Regions from separate parts of the Homo sapiens genome. Here regions 2, 3, 4, 5, 6 and 7 are each linked to region 1. The links are contacts of gene promoters, found by promoter capture Hi-C in blood cells and fetal thymus (Javierre and others, 2016). All regions are on one chromosome and are shown on one strand. The core of a region is centred on a gene start or on the middle of the fragment in contact, and the rest is flanking DNA. Distances in the headings are between cores, read along the strand shown.

Region 1 (3,588 bases), core at 704-3,203:
ACTAAGCCTCTAACTTTACTTTTCTTTAGAAAACCAGTTGGAAAGCAGTCATCAGAGTAAAAGTTTCCACAGCATCTGCCATTTAACAGTTTCTAAGCCTTTTTGGAGTCCTTTTGAAATTGGAGATATTGGCAAAAAACAAAGCCCCCAAATCCAATGCTTGCAGGTAAAAGATGCAAAAGAATGTTGCCCTGATGCTGACAATAAGCAAATGACCCACTTCAAGCACAGACAATGGAGGTGGAGCATGGATTTGAGCAAGATATCCTGGAACCGAGAGCTGTAACTACTCTAGGTCCTGCTAGTCATCATTCAAAGGTCAGTCCATACCAGCAGCCACATACCAGAGAGTTATGGAGCCAACATGATGATCGAATTAATATCTGCAAGTAATACTAAGTCACATCTGTCCTTACATAAGATTGTAAAATCTTTGATTGTGATCCAATAAAACCATTTGCTCAAATAATGATAAATCTGATAGTTCCTGGTCTCCGCACACCACAGATTAAATAGATAAACTGCCTAATATTTTTTCTTTTTTTTTTTTGAATCAGGCTGGAGTGCAGTGGTGCAATCTTGGCTCTCTGCAGCCTCGACTTCCCAGGCTCAAGTGATCCTCCCACCTCAGCCTCCCGAGTAGCTGGGACTATAGGCATGCCCCACAATGCCGGGCTAATTTTTTTTTTTTTTTTTGCAGAGACAGGGTTTTGCCATGTTGTCCAGGCTGGTCTTGAACTCCTGGGCTCAAGTGATCCACCAGCCTTGGTCTCCCAAAGTGCTGAGATTACAGGCGTGAGTCACTGCACCTGGCCTGCCTCACCTTTTGAACATATAGGATCTTACTTAAAGTGCTATGACAAACATGCAACCTGAACATCTAGAGTCATTCTGTTTGTCTGGCGTTTGAACACGAAAGATACTAGAAATTAACTCTGCCTGCTGAACTTTTTGCAGGAATCAGATTGAATTTCTTTTGAGGGCTCTCAGGTTTACACTTGTAAAATAACCTATTATGTTTAAAAATTATGAATAGTTGCTTTACATAGGAAACCAGTAAAATAACAATGATCCTTAAAAATCTGTGTGTGTGTGTGTGTGTGTGTGTGTGTAAATGTACTTCATATTTCCACAGCATCTGTCATTTAACAGTTTCTAAGCCTTTTTGGTGTCCTTTTGAAATTGGAGATATTGGATAAAACAAAGCCCCCAAATCCAATTCAGTAGATAATGACTAAATTATTATTTATCTCCTCTGTTTTGTTTCATTATGTTCATTTTCAAACTTTGATGTCTACCAGTTTCTTCTGTGGAGCTTATAAAAAATATAAATACCCGAAGTGTATGCATGGCCTACTAAATCAGAGTCTCACAGTTGATGGTACCTGGGTTTAGCAGAATACATAGGTGGTCCTGGTGCACCCTGAAGCGCGAAACGCTGCTCTGGGTGAAAAAAAGTGCTAGCAGGGAAATGTGTTAGCAAAATAACAAGGAAAAGAAAGTTAACAAATCTCAAATTGGAAAAGAAAAATCTTAAAAAGAAAGACGTGAATAATGGCGTTCAGTCTTGGTTGGTGTCATTTCTCACAGGCCAATTACCTACAGTCTGGGTGGACTAGAGAATAGAGATTAACATCAGTCAAATCCCGTGGTTAAAGCGTTAACTAGAATGTCCATTCATTTCTCAAGAAGTGTGGCAGAGAGCAAAGGAGTGTACCTATCAGCTGTTCCTAAGAAAGTAAACACTCCCAACATGCACTGAGGCACAGGGAGTGGCTCAGGTTTCTTGACACTTCCCTGCTGTGGCGAAAAGGAGAAATAATTAACAGCTCCTGGGGCTCCAGGATCGCTGATCGCGTCGGGGGCACTGCAAGCGCCCAGCTGAGCCATGCTCTGGGAGGAGACAGGCGCCGCCCCTGCGCCCGCGCGGGCCTCGGACCTCCCCTACAGGTGAGTGACTCGCGGAGTCCCAGCCCGGCAGAGACAGGGCACTGGTTTCCCTCTACCAGAGTTCCTGACCCAGCCGAGAACAAACCGCGAAGCAAGTTCAGCCGAACAACGATGGTGAAAAGGGTCCTCCTGCTCACAGTGTGAATAACAGGTAAAAAATGGGGATGGGGAAAAAAACTTTCTAATCCACTCCCTGGGGTCATGTTGAGGGCAAGTTATTAGAAAGCAGAATCCATAGGCAACAAAGTTAAGTGTGTGTGTGTCATAGCAGCCTGAATCGCACACATGCCTTTTCCTTTTGATTTTCTCAGAATATGCTTTCCTAACCAAGGTAAGCTTGTAGGGTGGGAGGGAGAGAGGGGAAAGAAGGGAGGGAAAGGGTGCAGAGAAGGGCTTGGAGGTAAATGTGACCATAGGACCCCTCCTCCCTTTAGTTCAATGAGCCCTTCACCTGTAATTGTGCCTGGCAAAAATCGTGCCTTACAAAGATACTAGACTTCTGGATGGCATACTCCTTCCTCTGAGTATCCTTATGGTTAGAATATTGTGTTGAATCATCGCACTGGAAAGAACTTAATTGAGGGTTCAGCTCAACTTTTATTTGTTTCTGCAAAGTGACAGAAAGCATGCCCCCCACCAAAAAAAAAATGAATTTTCAATATAAGCGCTCACCAAACAATGAAATAATAAACATAAATAATTAAATGGGAGTGCATGAGTTAAGGATATGAATTCTGAAGCAGAAGAGTGGTAGGTTCAAAGCTCGGCTTTGCCACTTATTAGTTTGCCCCCTCTCAAGTTTCTTAACCTAAGCCCCAAACGTTTGTCTGTAAAACAAGCATCATCAAAGGATCTGCCACATAAGGCTTTCTTTGATGGGAACTGAACAGTCAGCAAGTGTTCTGTAAGTGATACCTACTGTTAGCATTAAGAATAAGCTGCTCTGCCAAAGGGGCCGTTATCAGGGAGGGCAAGCTGAACTAGGGAGACCAGACAGTGTGTATTAGGATGCTGGAATTGAACTGGTTCCCGGAGACTGGATCCAGGACAGGCAAGCAGGTGACAGGTGTGCTAGGATCATCTCTCTGGGTAGCAACGAAATGACCTGGCTTCTTTCCATTTTTCAGATAGAGTATGTGGTGGCAAATTCAGACATATTTGCTACTCAATCAGTTTTCTTTTGAAAAATTCACATTTACATTAATCTGTTATTCCTAAAAAGAAAATAGAATTTTAGAGTAAGAGAGTTACACACAATCTCATATTGTGGAATTCATGCCATTTGGGTTTTATAAAGGAGACTGCTTTTGAATAACTTTCATCAATTTAGACCATATAATCCATGTCTTTATATTTCAGCACATATTGAATTGTTTGTATTGAAGTGCTGTTTTTAATTTGTGTTGATGGACAAGAGACATGAAGGAATAATACTTGTATTTTGTCAGTCTCTACCTCTTAAGCTTAAATTACAGGAAAGTGGCTTTATTTTATGAAGTTTCACTTAAAGGGCACTTTTGTCAATGTTGTTAGTTATTAATGTTGCTAATTTTCTTGAGGGGACCAACTTAGTGTCTATGACTAGTAATTTCCATTGACTTCATTTTTATCTTGTTATTTTATTAAATAAAGCAGTCA
Region 2 (3,588 bases), core at 753-3,252, 500 kb before region 1:
GAGTTTTCCTGATATGCAATCATTCAAAGACTTGAATAGTTCTGCAGCTATGGTATTAGTTGGCAACAAAAGTGCACATAACATATCCTCATGCACATCTTCTGAAAAATATATTGCACAAAAGTAAGCATTGTTGCCTTACCAACATTGGTAGACTCATCAACCTGAATCATGTACTGCGGTGGCTCATTAACTCTCTGTAACAATTGTACCTCAACATTCTCTGCTATTTCATCTAATCATTTAGTTATGTGCTAGCCAAATGAGAAACACATGCCACCTTTTGAACTGCAGCCTCTCCTGAAAGTTCATGACATATACCCTTAGCAGCAGGCAAAATCAACTCTTCACCAATAGCAAAGGGCTTCTTAACTTTAGCAATGTGGTTAGCCACTACGAATGATATGATGCTGTCAGTACAGACACATTTGATAAAATGGTGGCCTTCAATAATTGCTTCTGTTCTTCTTGTTCATCTTTTTTTTTTCTTTTGAAAAACTCCAAAGTCTTGTTTAACACAGGGTGCTTGGTTTCCATGCAGTGAAGCAGTTCTGAAGGTTTCATGGCTTCATTGCATAGCCAACCACCACATATTATAAAAAGAGGGCTTGGAGAATGTGAATTATCTGGTGCAATGACCCTGTAATTTAAGTAGGACTCATGGTATTTTGTTTTTTTTGTTTTTTTTTGAGATGGAGTCTCGCTCTGTCACCCAGGCTGGAGTGCAGTGGCACGATCTCGGCTCACTGGAAGCTCTGCCTCTCAGGTTCACGCCATTCTCCTGCTTCAGCCTCCTGAGTAGCTGGGACTACAGACACCCGCCACCATGCCCGGCTAATTTTTTGTATTTTTAGTAGAGACGGGGTTTCACCTTGTTAGCCAGGATGGTCTCAATCTCCTGACCTCGTGATCCGCCCGCCTCGGCCTCCCAAAGTCCTGGGATTACAGGCATGAGCCACCGCGCCCGGCCAGTATTTTCTTTTAAATGCAGCTTTCTTTTTGTTGGCAGTCTTAGAGTCTTCTGCTGTCTCATCATTGGTTCTTTCCCACTTTTCAAAGAAACTCTCCAGTGATGATTGTTTTTATTCATTTTGGCTAGGGTTAGCTTGTGGGCTTACCAAAACTGATTGAGACAAGTGTGCAGTGCAGGAAAGAGGTGCGGATGGAAGTGACAAATAAAATAATGGGCAGGACACACATGGACTAAAATAAGTGTCAGATTCTGACTTAAAGCCTGCCACCAGATGCAGCTGTACAGTTGAAGTACATCAACTCACTTGCCACTATAAAGCCAGCAACCAGATGCAGCTGTACAGTTGAAGTACATCAACGCACTTGCCACTATAAAGCCAGCCACCAGATGCAGCTGAATTATCACCTGCCACTCACTGACAGGGTTTTGATATGCGTCTGCAGGCAACTGATTTATTATGGTCTCTGGGCAGTCAAACCTCTCTGCTAATGTTAATCTGTGTTTGCAACCACTCCTCAGAGCTAGCATCACCACCTCAGCTCCACCTCAGATCATCAGGCATTAGACTTTATAAGGAGCATGCAATCTAGATCCCTCTCATGCGCAGTTCACAATAGGGTGTGCACTCCTATGAGAATCTAATGCCACCACTGATCCGACAGGAGGCAGAGCTCAGGAGGTAATGTGAGCAATGGGGAGCGGCTATAAATACAGATGAAGCTTTGCTCCCTTGCCTTTGGCTCACCTCCTGCTGTGTGGCATGGTTCCTAACAAGCCATGGACCACTGTCAGTTCTTGGCTCAGGGTTTGGGGATCCCTGCTCACATGACCTTTTCTCTGTGTGGTTGCATCTCTGGTGTCTTCTCCTCTTCTTATAATGACACCAGTCATCTTAGATTAAGACCAATCCACATGATCTCATTTAATCTTAACTACCTCTTTAAAGGCCCTATTTCTAAATACAGTTATATTCTGAGGTGTACTGAGAGTTCAGACTTTAACACATTTACAGGGAATGCAATTCAGTCCATAATACTTAATGAAATGCCTTTGCTCTGTTTCTACTGATATTTATTTTGTTTTATAAGAAAAGTTTCAGTTCCTGGTATACTGTGCACTGTTGAAGAGCCTTTGCAGTAATTACAATTAAAAAGTACTTTATTTTTATCTGGCACCAATGAACAGCTGAGGCCTATGTATTTTTTCGTGTGAATCAGGAGAGGACAAAAGAGGGTTAAAATCTGTATTAATGTGCTCACTAGACAAGAAAAGCAAACTTTTATTCTATAAGTGTTTAGTTTTTGATATCTTTAACTTTTGATATTTTACTAAGCTTAATTATTTGTTCATTAACTTAATAATGTTATTTAATAGAATCAGTGTTATTCATAATTTCATAAATACTTTTTCAACACCCTATGTACCAAGCACGGTTGTAGGAGTTGTAAGTACAACAGTAAATAGGATATATGGGAAAGATATATAAGAAAGATATATAAATAAGATATCTCTTCCCTTATAGGTCTTTCAGTCTAGTGAGGATATGAAGTGGCAAGTAAAATGTAGTCAGCAGAGTATTATATCATCGATAAGTACAGAGTTCATGGAAGCAAATGGACAGGACTTTGCATCTGTTTGGTGGGAATTGATATAGAGACTGAGAATTAGGGTTGAGCATAGAGTTCTTAAGACAAAAGTGATGGGTGAAAAGAAGAGGTGACAGTCCTCAGAACCACAGAGTGTTTACATCTGTGTGCTCTCTCCTTTAGAAACCCTGGGCCTGCTGCGGAAGCAGCTCTCATGAGGGAAGTTGCTGCATGGACTTTCAGGCCACTGAGTGACTCTTCTTGCAAAGAAATGACCCCAAATGTTTGAACCTTTGAACATGTGCTCAGGGAAGCTATTGATCTATATATAGATCCTGCATATAACCTATGCATTCTTTAAAATTCAATCCAAGCAGCAGCCCTACTTGAACGCTTCCTGAAAGATCATTCTTTCACCCTCCACCTCCCTGTACAGATTAAGATCTGAAGGTTTGTTCTCCAGGCCTGGGAACATTTCTGTACCCTGCAGCCTGAAAACCCACTGTACCTTTTCTTAACTGACTTCCTGGTTGATTTCCTCTTAACAATAGTAGCTGAATCTGAATCCCAGGAACCTCACACATAGTAAACACTCAAGAAAAATCTGCTAAACAGTGTTAGTCTTTCACAGTCATTCTGGGTCAGCAGCCAAAAGATTCTGTGTCCGAGGCCAGGTTCCTTCTGTTGGCTCCATTCTAAGCTCAGCATGCCATGACTCACTGTTTCCTAGACAATGTCATTTGTTGTCATGGCTATGAAGCCCCGTCCACTTGTGGACTTTCCCAAGGACTTCAGAATCTCCCTTTAAAATCCCTTTCTCCAAGCATTTCCATCACAGAGGCCTCAAGATCAAAGGAGTTATAGAATATTGTTACCCTGAGGATAAATCAGCTATTGCCAAACATTTCCCACATGAACTTTGCTTTCAGCATCTACAAAAGAGAAAACGATATGTGGTTTACTTTATAAACTTGGTGAAATAAAACCTAACAAGCTAATTTTAATGTAGCAGACATGAGTGTCATTTAA
Region 3 (3,588 bases), core at 601-3,100, 450 kb before region 1:
ACTTAAAGTCATTCTTAAACCACAAACAATAGCATGAGCGATCTGTGCCTTAAGGACATGCTCCTGCTGCAGATAACTAGCCAAAACCATCCCTTTATTTCAGCCCATCCCTTTGTTTCCCATAAGGAATACTTTTAGTTAATCTATAATCTATAGAAACAATGTTTATCACTGGCTTGCTGTCAATAAATACGTGGGTTAATCTCTGTTTGAGGCTCTCAGCTCTGAAGGCTGTGAGATCCCTGATTTCCCACTCCATACCTCTATATTTCTGTATATGTGTCTTTCATTCCTCTAGCACCACTGGGTTAGGGTCTCTCCAGGTGAGCTGGTCTCGGCAACATTAAAAAATAAAAATTATATGTTCTTGGTAGAAAGGCATGAGAATGTGTTTTTTTAAAAAAGAAAGTCATTTAGTCTAATTTAGAGGATTTAAGAAATAGGATAAAACTGAAGGTTTAAGCAAGTTGTAGAAGGTTTGTGAAACATTAACCTTGTAAAGAATTCTGTGTGTAAGTAAGTTGACCAAAATTATGAGTATTATTTATTTTTTCCATAAACTGAATATTAAAATAAAAGCACCCTGATGCAGGATAAGAATATTGGCCCCTGTGTCAGAATAACAGGGTTTTTTGAAACGTTGATCTGCTGTTTCATACAAAATTATAAAAGATTACAAAAGGTTTATGGAAATCTTACCTTATGGTCAAACAAATGAAAATTGGGTAATAGATAAGTTGATAAGGGTTTTATTAAAACTTAGCTTTAGCATTAATGATGAACTAATGCAAAAGTGAAATTCAATTTTCCTTTTTGAACAAGATTTTTGAATAATGAGAGACAATGAAATATTTTTGTTTGCCTTTTGAATAATTATATAAAAAATAAGGGAGAGAAAAGAGACACAGACTTTGGAAAGTAAGTATCCTCTTTATCAAGGAGTAAAGCTTTTTGCCTTTTTCAAATATCTGAGTTATCATTATGGCTAAATAAATGACTTACGATGTCCTGGAGTCCTATTTTATAATATCAAGTATCTTAAGCCATTGATGTTTGACAAGCTTTGCAAAATCAAATACTACATTAAATCTTTTTCTGACCTGATTAATCATTTTAGATATCAGGTCCCCTAAAGTCCAAAAATGGCATATTTGGCTTATTTGGTATATTAACATCATACAGGAAGCATTGCCAGATATAGAATGATATTTGGCTTCCTTTAGGCTGTATTTGTCTAAATGTGTTACTGGTATGTGTTCTAAAATTATGCAAAACTCCAATAATTCCGATATAACTTAGTGTACATTATCAGTAATAATTATAAATACTATATACAATTATTGTGTGCCACAGAGTAAATCATATTTCCTTGTCAATTGTGTCTTTAACTGTGGATGTCCTAAGACTTTTTTCATCCACAGACAATTTTTGTCTTGTTTTGATCCTCTTCAAAAGGTGGTTGGTAATCAGCTATAGGATTCTGATGAGTACTCTTAAGTGAAGGTCAGTGATAACTTTGGACAGTGTTCCATTAAAGTAGAGAGGAATAAAACCTTCCAGGACTCTCACAGAAAGCTAATATATCCATAAGGACTGTTGGTCCAATATCAGGCAAAACAAGAGTTAATAGCATGGACAAAACTGATAAAAGACCAAAATAATCTTTTAATAATTTTATTGCTTTAAACATTGATGAGCCTTTCTGCTTTATTTTTCAGAGTCAAGAACATTTTTCTTTTGACCTATTCATAGCTTTTAGCAATTAAGTAAGGTGTATACTCCTCTGAGCAAACTTTGGAGCACATTTCTTTTTCCCTACCTGATTTCTCCAGAATTTGGAAACGATTTGTGAGTATTCTTAACTTACGGCAATATATTTATCTGTATAAGTGCAATAAGAATCTGTTTCTTTTGTAGCAGGACACAGTTGGAGACACTGGTTATTTTACTTAAGGTGTTGACTGGAATGGCATGCTTTCAAATATGAATACACTGCTTTAAGGAATCAAAGTTGACTTACATAAACTATAAAAGCCCCTTGGGAAGCTGGCCTCATACCTTGTCTATGCAGTTACTGTATGGGTTCCTGATTTGTGGTAAATAAAAAATATCTCATTCTGACAGGCCCAGAAACCTCAAGTCATTCTGTGACCTCAAGAAGAGAGGAATTCACCCAACTCTTACAAATACAATTATTTGAAGGCACAGGTAAATCTGTGGCTGGACTCAGGGCTTTAAAATGTCTAATATGGGATTCCTTATAGAACAAAGTTTCATCAAAGCCAAATCAAACAAAGCCTACATGGCAAATAATTATTCTTCTTGCACTTTATACAAATAATCAGGCCAAGTATAACAATAAAACTAAAACTTATTTTGCAAACAAATCAGTCCTGCCATGATTTGTGTTTGGTAAAAATGGGAGTCTAAAGAGAGAACAATTATATTTCCAAAAAACTAGAATACACCTGTTGTTAGATTCTAGTCTTGTTTGTTGTTTGTGAGATTTTATCATTTTTTATGCAATTTAAACTGACAAGTCCCCAAACTAATGTCTTCAAATTTATCTTCTCTTTTTCCAACTAAACTAAATAAAATTATTACTATCTTTTCTTGAGGCTCTGTAAGCTAAAGCTTATTCCTTGTGAGACAGGTGAGAAAAATGTGTCAGACTGCCACCACCTTCCGCCTCTATAACTAAAGATGTTTTGAGACTAACATATGGATAGATTGTGTCACCATGAATCTTTGTTTTTCTTCTGTTCTCATAAAAATGTCTTTTATTGAAAATCTGTTTTGCTTTGTATTTCATATATCAGAAGACTGGTTTTCCAGTCTATTTACTAGATTCCAAATGGCATCTACACTTCTTATAAGCATTGTTCAACTGGACTTAAACATTTAATTATCACTAGGTGTTATTGGATTTTCCTGTTAAATAATTATTTGTTATGTTCAAGGGGGTTCAAATAGTTAAAGTTTATGTTTTCCTGACTAAAACTCTTCCAGAAAAATATGCCCAAGGGTATTTTCCCAAGGGTTCTAGCCTGTGCCACTGTGGGAAAGACCAAGTCTCTATAAATTATTACATCAGGTAGTGAGAGATTTCTGTATCTCCAGAGCAGATAGGCGTGACAGTCCCTGTTCAGAATGAAATCGTTATAGATGGTGAAACCTCTGTCCTTTTCCAATCCCTTAAGATTAAGGGGGTGTATTTAATCTCTGAGGTGGGGATGAGATAAGAGTTTGGCAGGACTGCTTTCACAAGGTACAGGTCACAAAGATCCTACTGGTAAAAGAGGTTGTGGTAAAGAAGCTGGTCAAAATTCCCCAAAACCAAGAAGGCAAAGAAAGCAACCTTTGGTTGTCCTCACTGCTCATTATACACTACCACCAGCACCATGACAGTTTACAACTGCCATGGAAATGCCTGGAAGTTACCCTGTATAGTCTGAATAGGGGTGGAACCCTGAGTTCTAAATTCCTGGGCCCTGTCCTGGAAAACTCATGAATAATCCATCCCTTGTTTAGCATATGATCAATAAATAACCATAAAAGTAGGCAACTAGGAGCACTCGGGGCTGCTCT
Region 4 (3,588 bases), core at 798-3,297, 380 kb before region 1:
AAGAGTTGTGTTTCATGACTGGTTTCTCATTGCCATCATGTTTACTGATTACCTTTGCTGGTCTGCTGTGAGGGCAAGGGTCTTCAGAACCAGCCAGAAGAGGATCTAGTTAGATTTCCATGAAAGAAAGCCTATGTGTCATTCCAATACAATAACCCATTCCTGCCATGGAGCAAGACAGTGGAAAACCCTTAAACCTTCAGTGCTTTAACTCCTCCACAGATAACAGAAGGAGAGAGGGAGAGGAAGCTGGAAACTACTTCACCCTTCAATTTCAGGCAGCAGTGCAGGGCTCACTGGGGACTAGAGTAGGCCTGTGGAAACAGCGTTGGTCACCAGTAATCATGAAACTCGATGGTTCCAGAAACCTGTGGGGAGCATTCCTCCCTCCGTGAAGTTGTTTGAGGGAAAACAGACTGGGTGCTGTTGTGCTGCCAAATTGATACAAACCCCTACAAGAAGCTTTCACATGAGCCCTTCAAACTCATCAGCCTCCCACAGCATCTCCAAATGGTGTCAAATACATATCTGGGGCTGGGAACAGAGCTGGGGCAGGCCTGGGATCCCTGGCAAGCTTTAGCCTGCGCTCACCATACTACACCTCACCCCCAACAAGACCAAAACCTCTTCCAATTCAATAGCATAGCAACTGCCAATAGCAAGGTATCTTCCATGGCAATTTGCTGGGTGATTTTGGAAGATTTTTGTTTAACTACCTGGACACACGTATACTTGCTATATACTACAAGTACAGAATTCTCAGTAAGCGGACTTACCAAAGTAGGTGATCTGTAGGGGAGTTAACAAAATTCAGTGGTCCTTTCAGGCCACTGACTTCAAGTGGCAAGAGACAAGGGTCTCTTGTTATCATGTTATCTTGGCTTCCAAAGCTGGTTGAAGTCCAGAGATTCATAAAGTCATTCAAGAAACCTAGAATGACCTGCCTGCAAGGAAGACAGGAAGGACTTTCAGTTTATAGCAATTCAAACATGAATAACATTTCCTGATTAATAGTAATAATAATTAGAAAGGATTGACTTTCAGAAATTTTTCTCAAATCAAGGCTCCTGTTACTTTGGTTCCACCTTTTCTCTCTAGAAGGAGAGGAGGAGCATCTCCCAGAGGGCTGCGTGCCTCAGAAAAGCCGGCATCCCTAGCCCGCTCTGGCACAGGCCATGAGGCCCTGCTGAATCCTGCTGAATAGCTACTCCCTTCTAGCTGGAGCCACAGCTCCCTCCACCGCGGAGCAGGGTTACAACGTCCCTCTCGGTAGAGGTGCACGCAGCTCCTCCTGGCCACCCTCCCCACCAGTTCCCATTGTCTGGCCCCCCTCCCCCAACCTCTTCTTTCCACACTGCCCCATGAGTTCAGGGAATTTCCCCAGCATCCCAAAGCTTGAGTTTCCTGTCAGTGGGGAGAGATGAGTGTAGATAAAAGGAGTGCAGAAGGCACGAGGAAGCCACAGTGCTCCGGATCCTCCAATCTTCGCTCCTCCAATCTCCGCTCCTCCACCCAGTTCAGGAACCCGCGACCGCTCGCAGCGCTCTCTTGACCACTATGAGCCTCCTGTCCAGCCGCGCGGCCCGTGTCCCCGGTCCTTCGAGCTCCTTGTGCGCGCTGTTGGTGCTGCTGCTGCTGCTGACGCAGCCAGGGCCCATCGCCAGCGGTGAGAGCGCATGGCGCGCGGGACGCACTCGCACTCGGGCACAGAGGTGCATCCCAGCCTCTGCGGGGTCGCTGCGTTCCAGGGAACTCTCCCAGCAACCTGCCCTATAAAGGGTGTCTCTCTTTCTTCCCCAGCTGGTCCTGCCGCTGCTGTGTTGAGAGAGCTGCGTTGCGTTTGTTTACAGACCACGCAAGGAGTTCATCCCAAAATGATCAGTAATCTGCAAGTGTTCGCCATAGGCCCACAGTGCTCCAAGGTGGAAGTGGTGTAAGTTCTGTGCTGCTGTGTCCGCTGTGACCTTGGCAAGAGAGAAATCCCGCAGCCTGGGTCTTCAACCTTGGTATCTCATGAGTGTATCTTCTTTTTCTTTCCTTCAGAGCCTCCCTGAAGAACGGGAAGGAAATTTGTCTTGATCCAGAAGCCCCTTTTCTAAAGAAAGTCATCCAGAAAATTTTGGACGGGTACTTGTCACTTTGATCTTTGTGGTTTCTAAATCTGATCTAGGGAGACCATAGACTTCACAAGGTCTTTATTCTCTGTACGATTTAAGTAACACTTTTCATGTTTAGAATTAAAAGGTTGTTGAATTGGGAAAGTTTTTCTGGATTGTCCTGGGAAAATATACCAATCTTACATGTAATTACTTGAGCAATTACACACAGCTTGTCACTAAGTTATGTTTTTTGTTTACCCATTGCTTTTATTGATTTTTGTATTCTCCTTTTTTACCAAACATCATAAACGCTGAGTTTTGACAAGGGTGGAGTAGAAAGGAGTGTGAAAAATGGTTAAACTAATATAACATTTTTCTCAACAGTGGAAACAAGGAAAACTGATTAAGAGAAATGAGCACGCATGGAAAAGTTTCCCAGTCTTCAGCAGAGAAGTTTTCTGGAGGTCTCTGAACCCAGGGAAGACAAGAAGGAAAGATTTTGTTGTTGTTTGTTTATTTGTTTTTCCAGTAGTTAGCTTTCTTCCTGGATTCCTCACTTTGAAGAGTGTGAGGAAAACCTATGTTTGCCGCTTAAGCTTTCAGCTCAGCTAATGAAGTGTTTAGCATAGTACCTCTGCTATTTGCTGTTATTTTATCTGCTATGCTATTGAAGTTTTGGCAATTGACTATAGTGTGAGCCAGGAATCACTGGCTGTTAATCTTTCAAAGTGTCTTGAATTGTAGGTGACTATTATATTTCCAAGAAATATTCCTTAAGATATTAACTGAGAAGGCTGTGGATTTAATGTGGAAATGATGTTTCATAAGAATTCTGTTGATGGAAATACACTGTTATCTTCACTTTTATAAGAAATAGGAAATATTTTAATGTTTCTTGGGGAATATGTTAGAGAATTTCCTTACTCTTGATTGTGGGATACTATTTAATTATTTCACTTTAGAAAGCTGAGTGTTTCACACCTTATCTATGTAGAATATATTTCCTTATTCAGAATTTCTAAAAGTTTAAGTTCTATGAGGGCTAATATCTTATCTTCCTATAATTTTAGACATTCTTTATCTTTTTAGTATGGCAAACTGCCATCATTTACTTTTAAACTTTGATTTTATATGCTATTTATTAAGTATTTTATTAGGAGTACCATAATTCTGGTAGCTAAATATATATTTTAGATAGATGAAGAAGCTAGAAAACAGGCAAATTCCTGACTGCTAGTTTATATAGAAATGTATTCTTTTAGTTTTTAAAGTAAAGGCAAACTTAACAATGACTTGTACTCTGAAAGTTTTGGAAACGTATTCAAACAATTTGAATATAAATTTATCATTTAGTTATAAAAATATATAGCGACATCCTCGAGGCCCTAGCATTTCTCCTTGGATAGGGGACCAGAGAGAGCTTGGAATGTTAAAAACAAAACAAAACAAAAAAAAACAAGGAGAAGTTGTCCAAGGGATGTCAATTTTT
Region 5 (3,588 bases), core at 335-2,834, 360 kb before region 1:
TCATCATCATTTTCAACACATCATCTTCGCTAATGTGGCACTTTGAATTGAGTCTCTACCAGTACACTGAAACAGTGATAAATGTTATAATCTCTGATTTCATAGTGTTTTCCAGTTTAGGAAACAAAACCATTTTTAACACTATGAAATACACACATACACACACACACATACGTATCTCTGTGTAATATATATATATGTGTGTGTGTGTGTGTGTGTGTGTGTTACCTGTGAGAAACAGGAAAGACAGAGTTCTGCAAGATAGAAAGGCAAGAGAACACAATTACATATAGTTGTCAGGGAAGGGCCCTCTGAGGAACTGACACTTAAGCTGACTCCGGAAGTATAAATAAGTCTTAGTCAGGTGAAAAGGCAGGTAGTGGGAGAGTAGGAGGAAGAAATTACTCAGCTCAACAATTAAATTGCATATTTCTATAGAAGTCCAGTCCTACCACATATTAGAATATCAGCTTTCCATGCAGTGGGCTCCTGACACCCTTTACCACTGTTAATAAGTGTGATAGAGAACCTCTGGCTTTGGGTTAAGGGTGTACCTTGCCCTAATCAAGAGCCAAAGTCATTCTTTCTCAGAGAAGGGAAGACTGTCCATATGGATCTCTTCCCCTTTCCTATGTGGGATTCTATTGCATCCCCTCCACCGTCACCTCCCATCATTCTCACATTCAACTCCCAGATGCCTTGAATCCTCCTGCAGAGAGCATCACTGCTCCCCACCAACAGTGCAGCTCATCTCACCCTGTCACTAGCACTGGCTGAAGACACAGCAGGCACTGGGAGACATGGCCTGGCAAACTCTTCTTGTCCTCTCTTCTGGACTGTTATTCAGGATGGAAACAATGAAGAAACAGCCAGGCACTAAGCTTTTACAAAAAGAATGCATTCAAATATTACTTCTGCAATTTTTCCAAGAGTACGAGTAATGGGAAAATAGACCTTGCGTCCTACAGCATACTGGGTGATTGTTGGTGGAGCCTGGTAAATACCATCCAGAGACTAGGGAAGTTTTCCACATTCAGGTGAAATTCAAAAGAGTCATCGCCTAGAGACCAAATTAAACTTATTAGTAGCAGAAAATAATTGCGAATAACACATGCTTCACACACAAAGCCACCAAACTCAGTAGTAATAATTGGTAGTTGCAGCTGGGAGGTTGGAAAGGAAACAGGAACTGTCAGGGTCCTGAAAGCACCTACTGTGTAAGTTGCATGATGACAGCAGAGAACTCTACTGTTAATACAACACAAAAAACATTCCTTTTCTGACTCAAGTTCTGTTTCTAACTCTACAAACGTGCTTGTATGTAAGTTGAGGTTGGAGGTCCCAGCCAAGGCAGCTGCCCAGAGCCTTTTCTTTCTTTCTTTCTTTCTTTCTTTTCTTTTCTTTTTTTTTTTTTTTTTTTTTTTTTTTTTTTTTTTTTTTTTTTTTGGTAATCTTGGCTGGCCAGAACCCAAGTCTTCCCAGTACTATCTTAGTTTCCGCACCGCAGTTCCTCGGTGTCCACTTCAGGCTTCCGGACTGGAAGGACAGCCGGGAATAAAACGTGCCGGCGAGGCTCAGGAGTCATTGGCCACAGAGACCCAGCCCGAGTTTCCCATCGCACTGAGCACTGAGATCCTGCTGGAAGCTCTGCCGCAGCATGAGCTCCGCAGCCGGGTTCTGCGCCTCACGCCCCGGGCTGCTGTTCCTGGGGTTGCTGCTCCTGCCACTTGTGGTCGCCTTCGCCAGCGGTGAGAGCAGAAGCCAGGCTGTGAGGGCTGGCAGCGGCGAGGGGGAGTCCGGGAAGCCCTGGGGCTGGGGAGGAATCCTCTAGGATCATGATCACAGCCACACTTAACGGAGAGCCTGCTGAGTGTCTGGCCACAGTGCCAGGCGCTGCACCTGCACCTCCCACCTGGTTAGAACAACTTCTGTCTGGGGGAGGTGTGATTTATGGTAAGGAAAAGAAGGCTGAAGGTAGTGGAAAAAGTCCCTAAAGTACCTCTGGCTACTCATGGAGTCACCACTCCCTCCCCTCCTCCTCTCTTACCCTCTCCATTTCCCCCTCAGCTGAAGCTGAAGAAGATGGGGACCTGCAGTGCCTGTGTGTGAAGACCACCTCCCAGGTCCGTCCCAGGCACATCACCAGCCTGGAGGTGATCAAGGCCGGACCCCACTGCCCCACTGCCCAACTGATGTGAGTCCTTGCACTGCATCTGTCAGTGCTCCCGCTCCGTGCCTCCTCTGCCCAACCCTCCCCCTTCTAATGCCATTTGCAAACCCAAGGACTGAAAGTCACATCTCTTCTCTTTTCCCTGCCAGAGCCACGCTGAAGAATGGAAGGAAAATTTGCTTGGACCTGCAAGCCCCGCTGTACAAGAAAATAATTAAGAAACTTTTGGAGAGTTAGCTACTAGCTGCCTACGTGTGTGCATTTGCTATATAGCATACTTCTTTTTTCCAGTTTCAATCTAACTGTGAAAGAACTTCTGATATTTGTGTTATCCTTATGATTTTAAATAAACAAAATAAATCAAGTTGTAGTATAGTCAAAATACTTCTTAATAATAGTGCAAAAATTGTGTTGACACATAACAATTTCATGGAAGAAAAAAATTCCGGTATTTTAAGCAAAAAGTATTTTGAAGGAAGGTGTGAATACTGGTTATGCTTGGTGTTACATGTTGGCTGATACATATTCATGCATTTACATGATTGCAGTACTTTATAGCTACATATTTACCTTGACCATTATTATTACCTTTGCCAATAAATATCAGTAACACAGATGGCTTTTAAAAAATTAAGTAAATAAATAAGACTGTTTTTATGCCCACAAATTCTGGAAACAAGGAGACGTACTAGATGATGTTTTTATTCATCCCTCAGGAAGGCACTGCTCTACTCTGGGGAGAAAGGAAGTTGTTGCAGTGTTGGTATATTAGTTACCTATGGCTTCTGTAACAAATCAACACAAACTCAGTGGCTTAAACAATACAAATGTATTATCTTGCAATTTGGGGGGTCACAAGTCCCAAGTGGGTTGAACATGCTGAACTCAAAGTATGATCATAGCTGTGTTTCTTCTGAAGGCTCTAAAAGAGAATCTATTTCCTTTCCTTCCTCAGCTTATAGAGGCATCTACGTTCTTTAGCTTATGGGCCCTCCATTGATTTTCAAACTGCATCACTCCAACCTCTGCTTCCATTGTCACATCTCCCCTCTCTCCTCTGACCTTTCTGCCTCTAACTCTACCTACCTCTCATAAGGAGCCTTGTGAATACGTTGGACCTGCTTGGATAATCCAGAAACCATTTCCATCTCTGGACATTAAAACATCTGTGGAGACTTTTTTGCCATACTAAATGACATATTCATAGGTTGCAGAGAGTAGGGCATGGGGATCTCAAGGGTGGGGGGCATTATTCACCCTACCACAATGGGTCAGAAGGCAGAATCTAGCTGTGGAATGAGAAAGCTGCAGTCATTTTTCATGAGCTAATGTAATTTTTACCCAAGGTGACAATGTTTGTGTAGACATAGGATAAAAATCCTAAGAGAAAATAGAACATGGTGCCATTCAATCTCTTT
Region 6 (3,588 bases), core at 378-2,877, 310 kb before region 1:
TTTCATTCTTCAACAAAAAGGGAGAAGACAACAAAATTGCTCTTGAGATTGTGGTGGCTGAGAAACACTATAGTCCTGAGTCTACCAAGGTCTGAAATCAGAAATGTCTACTGAGATCTCACATTCTTTGGCTATCTGCCCTTACAAAGTTTGTCCTTTTCTTTCATCCATTTAACATTACATAAAAGAGAAACCAGGTCTAAAGAGATGTTTTTTGGCTTTAAGCAAAACAAAAGCTGTGAAATATCTAAAATTAAACTAGGACATGCATGCAGTTTGTCAAGTGTCAAAGAAGCCCAGATAGAGGCAGAACAAATTTATTTAACTTGAAATTCTGATTAAAGGGTCTGTACTTCTCTTTCTGAAGGGTAAAGGGGAGATGATGGTAGTAATATTATTTCAAGTCAATCTAGGGTGTTTATTTTAATATTAGTTAGCAGATGGAATTATTACATTCAACTGAAATCTTACATCAAATTATACCGATAAATTTTCGCTGGACTCAAGCAGTTCTTTTATACTTATGTAGTTATGGTTTTGATTACAATTACAACCTTAAGGAGTGGATATTTGCTCTTTTATGCCTAACACTATTTCATAGTAGCAGCTCAATAAATTCATATTGATTATGATATTGGCAAATAATTGGTATTCTGTGATTTCTCCATGACTATTTCTATTAATGTTGAATTCTTAATCCAATATTGTGGCCAGCTACATTGATTTGAAATAGTAAATTAAGGGTTAGGCAATATGGCTGTCTTTATCTTCATTCAGATTTTTCTGTACTTACCTCACATAGCTGATGCTTCTGAGAGCTAAGAGTTGCAATATCAATATATTTGGAATATGATTTTTTAAATTTTTTTCTATACTCATTAAAAATGTCCAGTTGATACTTGAAGCTTCTTGCTGTAGCTGAAAAGAAATAATGTAAGTAGGAATTATGAGGGGAAAGTAATAGTCTCTAGTAGTAGTTTTCAGAGATGAAGTTCTTGCAAAATTTACCAGACTAACAATATAGGAGACAAGGGTTTGGGCATTATTCTTACATGGTGAAGGAAAAAAATCACTATCTTCAAGATTCTATTCTAGTAACTTCTTCTTCTTCAAAAAAAAGTATCTGACATTGGAGCATGAGTAAGGCATAAACTGAAATGTGTAGATTGATTTTTGAAGTCAATGAACATCTATAATAAGCAATGACACATACTAGCATTAAAAATACTTTGATAATGCTAGATTATTGGGAAGTCTTTTATATACTTGGACAAAGAACATTCAAAAGTTGCAATATAATGTAGCAGGTTTAAAAAGTTTTTTAAGTTGCACAATATGTCATAGATGTATAAGATTGTATAGAAACATATACTATATAAAAACATGAATAGATGTTTTATATAAATAATATTTAATATTAAAGATTGTATAAAACATGTATATGCATATGTATACTATTTGCATGTGTGCCTATATACATATATACACACAGACAAAGGTTTAGGAAGAGTAACAAAATAAACCACTATGCCCATTTCCATGTTTAAGATATGAACATTAGCAGGATACTGGAAGTACTCTCTGTACCCATTCCAAATCTCATCTTTCTCCTTTCCTGTCACACTCCTTGCACCTTAACCCTTAACTTGAACTCAGTGTCAGTCATTCCCACTTATTGTAGTGCTTAACATCTATAAGTAAAATCCTAAACAATTGATTATTAATTTTATTTGTTTTGAACTTTGGAAAAATGAGCTGATGCTACACAGATATGACCTAATTTTGTCATTTAGGAACTTGTTTGTGAATTTCATATAGGATGATTTATTTCAGTCAATGACTGCTATTACATTTTGTGGCAACACAAATACTTATCTGGTCCACTGCTGTGTGGAAATTTGAGTTGCTTACAGTTTTGCTAATACTAGTAACATAGCTCTCAACATTTTTTGTGCTGAGCCCTGGGTATATAAGTCCTAGAGATACTTTAGGATATATATGTAGGAGTGGAATTACTGGCTCATATGGCATGCATATATTCAACTTTACCAAATCATAAAAAATTATTTTTAAAATGATTGTACTCATTTACCACACCCACTAGCAATTCATGAAAGTTTCTTTCCTCCACTCACTGGCCATCCCTTGAAATTTTCAGACTTCTGAAATTGTTGCTAAATGACTCTATAATGGTATCATATAGTGATTTTAATTTGCTTTTTTCCTTATTATAAATGAAGGTGAATATCTTTTCACATTTATGAACCATTTGTAGTTGGTCCTCTGTGAAACTTCTGTTTCTTTTGTCCACTTGTTCTGTTGTGCTATTAGCCTTTTCATAAAAGCTTTAAAAAATTTTGGATGGTAATCATTTGTCACTTACATATGTGGCACAAAGTTATCTCTGCAGTGTGTTTTAAAGTGAATTTTCTATAATATAATTTTTTCTCTTACGGCTGATCTTTTCTCAGAATCATAAAATATTCTACATTGTCTTCTAAAAATTAAGTAGATTTGTCTTTCTTACTTAGAACTTTAATCTACTCAGAATTGATTTTTCTCTATAATGTGAGGTAGAAGTTTAATTTTATTTTTTATATGATTACAAATTGGTGCAGTATCATGTGTTGAAATGTTAATCATTTTTCAATCTCTGTCATAAATCAAGATTTCTTATATGTGTAGTTTGTTTCTAGACTTTGTTTTTTTCTCATTGGTCAGTATGTCATATCTACATGAGTGCTATACTATCCTAATCACTATATTATTATAAAATTTCTTGATAACTGAAAAGGCAAGTCTCCCAAAATTGTTTTTCTTCTTTAGGAGTCACTGATCTCTTCTCAGTTCTTTGATATACACCTTAGAATTACTTTGTCAATATGTAACTTTTGAATTCAACTTTATTGACTTTATAGATCAGTTTTGGGAGAGACAGTTGATGCAAGTTTAAGATATTAACATTTTATGGTATAGCCCATAAATTAAGGTCTTTAATATTAAAAAATGTTTCTCCTTGTACATTGTTTATCTTGTTTCTAGAGACTTTTGTATTTGGCCACTATTGTAAATAGTGTCTTGAAGACTGTGTTTTCTGGTTTTTGTATCTAATTTTTATACTCATCAGTATTCTAGTAGTGTAAATTATTTTGCATTTTCTACATAGACAATTATGCAATCTACTACTAATGGCAGTTTTTTGTTTTCACCTATTATCAATTTTTATATATTTTTCTAGCCTCACTGTACTGATTAAAATTTTTAGTACATGTTTGAAGGGAAGTGTTGATAGCAGACACTCTTGTTTTGTTCTTAAGAAACTGTCCAAACATTTACCACTAAGTATAATATTTATTTTAGGTTAATATTTATATTATTTTATATATTTTATATAATATTTATATTATTTTAGGTTAATATTTATTTGAGGTTGAGAAAATTACCTGCTATTAATAATTTCTTGAGCTTTCTTTTTATATCATAAATCAACATAGAATTTTATTATTTTTAAATCTTGGAGTTTCCACTCCTAAAGAAAGTTGAGGTGGCCATGTCTGCACTTAATGAGCGTCTAAAGAATCCTGAAAA
Region 7 (3,588 bases), core at 287-2,786, 300 kb after region 1:
ACTACCCAATTTACCTTAAAATTGAAACCAAGGATAATACAAGATAAGGATAATAAAAGGATAATACAAGAATGAAAAATGGTGTGTGAATGTCATTTATAGATACAGATTTAAAAACTGAAATAAAATATTAATGAATCAAATCCAGCGCAGGAGATGAACATAGAAGGGATCAAGTGGGTTTTATTTCAGAAACTCCAAAATGTCTGAAACACAGAAAACCAATTGATGTGATTCACCACATTTATAAATTAAATGAGCAACATAATTAGTTTAGTTAATGAAAAATGCATAAGAAAAAAATGCAACATACATTCATGAGTTTTTTTTTTGTAAAGCATACCAAGAATAGAAGAAAATGGGCGTATAGATCCTGAGACAAAAGTTGAAGTTTTTTTCTTTTTAAAAAAAAAGAAAGAAAAAGAAGGAAATGGACTTAACTGTCATCTTTTTAAACCTCACAAACATCTTATGTAATGATAAAATGCTAGAAATACTCTCTTTAGAGTCATAATACACAGATGTCCATTATAGACATCGCTTTTCAGTAATGTACTAGTGCTCTCAGATAATAAAATCTGAAAAGGAAAATAAATAAGAATTATAAATACTATAAATAATGAAGGATTTTATCCATATTTTTCTTTGCCCTCACTGTGTAGCAATACACCTATTGCTCTTCATGAATAGAATCAATCACCTCTGCCAACACCTGAATTCCCTTTTGGTCTGGTTTGTCCAGTGGCATCAATTATTCAAAACAGCCAGTTGGCAGTGGCCACTGTCGATACAGTTGAACTTTGCTTGTGTCTCTTGGTGGTTACAGGAAATCTCTTTTAGATATTAAGTAATATCTCTTAGACATTAAGATCTCTGAACCAGTAAAAACTCATGTTCTGAAGACATGATGCAAAAAAATGTATAAGTAGGCATTTGGTGTAATTTTATGAGCCACCACTTATAGTCATTGCTTCCCAAATCTACACATTCTGTTTATGAGGAAAACAGCCCATGTACTGATTACCAGTTCAGAGCATATAATACTTTATGCAAGACAACATCCTGACCTCCCAAGAAATTGCTTTCCTGCCTGGCACTATAGGTGCTAGTCTTCAGTACGACATTTCGACAATCTATAAAGCAGGTGGTAAGGGATAAATTGTAAACTGTAAAATAATTCCTTGGAGACAATGCTGTGTGGGATGCAATGACTGTGAATAAGACACTCAAAAATTCCAAGAAATAGTGCTGCAAACAAAAGCATGGCAGGCAGAGAAATCCAGCTGAAATCCTTTCTAGGTACCTGCTCTCTACTTGCCCTAGTCCAGTTTATGGTACTGTGGCAGAAAGACCTACGAGTGGCCCTTGCAATTCTCACCTCCTCGTATTTACGTCCTCCTATAGTCCCCTTCCCTTGAGTATGGTAGGGACCTATGACGTGCTTCTAACCAGTAGACAGTAGCAAAGGTGATATCACTCTTATGATTACATTATATGGCAAAGATGATGGATGTAATTCTTGTGATTAGATTATGTTACCAAAGTCTCCATCTTAGCAGACTGGAGCTAGAAACTCTCCTTGCAGATTGCACTAGCTACATAATTTGTGGGGCCCACTGCAAAAGCAAAACCTGGGGCTCCTTTTTTCAAAAATTACTAAGAATTTCAAAACAGCTACAAAAGAGCCTTAAACCAAGTGTGGGGCCTTCTAAGCACAGGGATATGTGACAGCATAGGATGTGTGCCCATAAAGCCAGCTTGGCTTGTATGTTTGATGAAGTAAGTGGCCATGTACTAAAAGACTATGTGTCAAGGGGCTGTGGGCAGCCTCCAGACAAAAGCTAGCAAAAAGTCAGGGCCTTCAATCATATAGCCAAAAACTATGAATTAACTTAGAATTGGACTCTCCCCTAATGAAGCCTCCAGACAAGAATGCCAGTATGGCCAGCACCTTGATTACAGTCTTCCGAGAACCTGTGCAAAGAACTCAGCTAAGCCATGTCCAGACTTGTGATACGTGGAAACTGTGAAGTAATAAATGCGTTTTGTTACCAATGGCTAATTTTGTGATAATTTTTATGCAGCAATAGAAAACGAATGGAGATGTCACATAAAAGATTGAGGATAAGTTCCTGCTGTTGGCAAGCCTTCAGGAGTAAAAATTGATGTTGTTGAGTCCATGCATGGCCTCCATCCCTGCAAGATTGGTATTTTTTAATGAGCCTATTAAGAAAGCAATGGTATGGTCATAGATAGAGGCTAACTGCCAGCCTCTTTGATTATTAAGAGCTTCTTCCATGGTAAAGACTTTTTGACACGCTTTCATTTGGGACAATATTCTCATATTCTGGATCCATAGGAAGACATCTATCCTTGTATTTTACTTTTCAAACTCCTTGTTTCTAAGACTCTAATCTTCCTCCTTCTAGTTCCACTAGCCAGTCACCATAAATGGGCATAGATTCTTGATTCAGGCTATGGTTTTCATAACTGGAAAATTACCTGGGATACTCAAAATTCTACCTATCAAGAGGAATTCATTTTTCATGGTCCTTAAGAGCTAACCCTGATTAGATTTGTAGGGAGGTGGTAGTCTACTTTCACCTAGTGCCAGCAAATTATGTTGACTCATCTGTTAACCAAGGTCAGAGATTTAGGTCATAGGTAACTTGCCATGAGGTCATAAATGAAGTTGAGAGAAAAATGACAACGAAGCAGAAGTAGCACACTCAGAATATGAATCATAAACACATGTATCCTTCTTGTGCCTCTAGATATTCTCCGGCTCAGTTCCACATATATTACTTCCTTTTTATAGTGGACTGCTACTAGGCATGACTAACTTGGTACTTTAATGGATAACATGTGGTTCATCATGATCAGCTCAGATCAAGTAGTTATCCAGACTAATGGTCAGGAATTTATGGTCTATAATTATGGTAATCACGCCAATTTGCCTTAGTAATTAAGTACTCTAATTTCTGTCAACCTAGGATCTTCACATTCTCACTGAAATTAAGGGTGCCCTCAAGAGGCATTCCTAATTCATTTGTTTTCTACTTTTTCTTTCTTTTTTTTTTCTTTTTTCTTTTTTTTTCTTTTTTTTGAGACAGTGTCTTGTTTTGTTGCCTAAGCTGGAAGGCAATGTCACAATCTTGGCTCACTGCAACCTCAACCTCCTGGGCTCAAGTGATCCTCCTGCCTCAGCTTCTCAAGTAGCTGAGACCACAGGTACAAGCCACCATGCCCAGCTAATTTTATATTTTTCATAGAGATGGGGGACTTGCTATGTTGCCTAGGCTGGTCTCAAACTCCTGGCCTCAAGCAATCCTCCTGCTTCGGCCTCCCAAAGTGCTGGGATTATAGGTATGAGCCACAATGCCCATGTAATGTATTTCTTGTTGTTGCTTATTGGGCAGCTACCTGAGCCACAGGTAGCTCAGAAAGACTCTCAAATTGTTTGTTTGTTTTTTAAAACAGAAACAAGGTTTTACTATATTGTCCAAACTGACCTCAAGCTCTTGGCCTCAAGTGATCCTGCTGCTTTGGCCTCCTAAAGTGCTGGGATTACAGAAGTGGGCCACTGCA

Evidence for each region. Contacts are between HindIII fragments. The CHiCAGO score rates a contact against its expected background, and 5 or more counts as called.
Region 2: a fragment that was not itself captured here is called in contact with the fragment with the promoter of RASSF6 in region 1 in 4 of 17 cell types (fetal thymus, neutrophils, monocytes and 1 more); the score reaches 11.8 in fetal thymus.
Region 3: a contact is called between a fragment that was not itself captured here and the fragment with the promoter of RASSF6 in region 1, in 1 of 17 cell types (neutrophils). The highest score is 6.1, in neutrophils.
Region 4: a contact is called between a fragment that was not itself captured here and the fragment with the promoter of RASSF6 in region 1, in 1 of 17 cell types (monocytes). The highest score is 5.0, in monocytes.
Region 5: a contact is called between the fragment with the promoter of PF4 here and the fragment with the promoter of RASSF6 in region 1, in 6 of 17 cell types (neutrophils, endothelial precursors, M2 macrophages and 3 more). The highest score is 14.6, in neutrophils.
Region 6: a contact is called between a fragment that was not itself captured here and the fragment with the promoter of RASSF6 in region 1, in 1 of 17 cell types (endothelial precursors). The highest score is 5.7, in endothelial precursors.
Region 7: a contact is called between a fragment that was not itself captured here and the fragment with the promoter of RASSF6 in region 1, in 1 of 17 cell types (megakaryocytes). The highest score is 6.5, in megakaryocytes.

The regions. Positions count from the first base shown.
Region 1 is chr4:73,618,801-73,622,388 of GRCh38, reverse strand. It overlaps RASSF6 (Ras association domain family member 6), which reads left to right and starts at 1,953. Exons shown (of 11, transcript NM_177532.5): 1 at 1,953-2,101. RefSeq lists enhancers at 1,381-1,929, 1,930-2,479. The HindIII fragment of the contact is 3,198 bases long and covers 1-2,288 here.
Region 2 is chr4:74,116,884-74,120,471 of GRCh38, reverse strand. All of the region lies in intron 1 of LOC105377277 (a long non-coding RNA gene), which reads left to right. It also overlaps a transcript of MTHFD2L not described here. Among named protein-coding and RNA genes, the nearest start is that of CXCL2, 19 kb to the right of the region's middle. The HindIII fragment of the contact is 613 bases long and covers 1,696-2,308 here.
Region 3 is chr4:74,066,301-74,069,888 of GRCh38, reverse strand. No RefSeq gene overlaps it. Among named protein-coding and RNA genes, the nearest start is that of CXCL3, 29 kb to the right of the region's middle. The HindIII fragment of the contact is 1,573 bases long and covers 1,064-2,636 here.
Region 4 is chr4:73,996,551-74,000,138 of GRCh38, reverse strand. It overlaps CXCL5 (C-X-C motif chemokine ligand 5), which reads left to right and starts at 1,462. Exons shown (of 4, transcript NM_002994.5): 1 at 1,462-1,666; 2 at 1,801-1,933; 3 at 2,044-2,127; 4 at 2,484-3,588. The coding sequence starts at 1,558. The coding sequence ends at 2,502. LOC124900715 (a long non-coding RNA gene) reads right to left here and starts at 1,911. Exons shown (of 2, transcript XR_007058140.1): 1 at 777-1,911. The HindIII fragment of the contact is 1,301 bases long and covers 1,397-2,697 here.
Region 5 is chr4:73,980,023-73,983,610 of GRCh38, reverse strand. PF4 (platelet factor 4) reads left to right here and starts at 1,584. Exons shown (of 3, transcript NM_002619.4): 1 at 1,584-1,748; 2 at 2,068-2,194; 3 at 2,320-2,800. The coding sequence starts at 1,658. The coding sequence ends at 2,407. RefSeq lists an enhancer at 1,891-2,632. The HindIII fragment of the contact is 10,026 bases long and covers 884-3,588 here.
Region 6 is chr4:73,933,424-73,937,011 of GRCh38, reverse strand. No RefSeq gene overlaps it. Among named protein-coding and RNA genes, the nearest start is that of PF4, 47 kb to the left of the region's middle. The HindIII fragment of the contact is 1,440 bases long and covers 908-2,347 here.
Region 7 is chr4:73,314,445-73,318,032 of GRCh38, reverse strand. The region is part of intron 3 of ANKRD17-DT (ANKRD17 divergent transcript); the gene reads right to left. Among named protein-coding and RNA genes, the nearest start is that of ANKRD17-DT, 57 kb to the right of the region's middle. The HindIII fragment of the contact is 4,979 bases long and covers 1-3,588 here.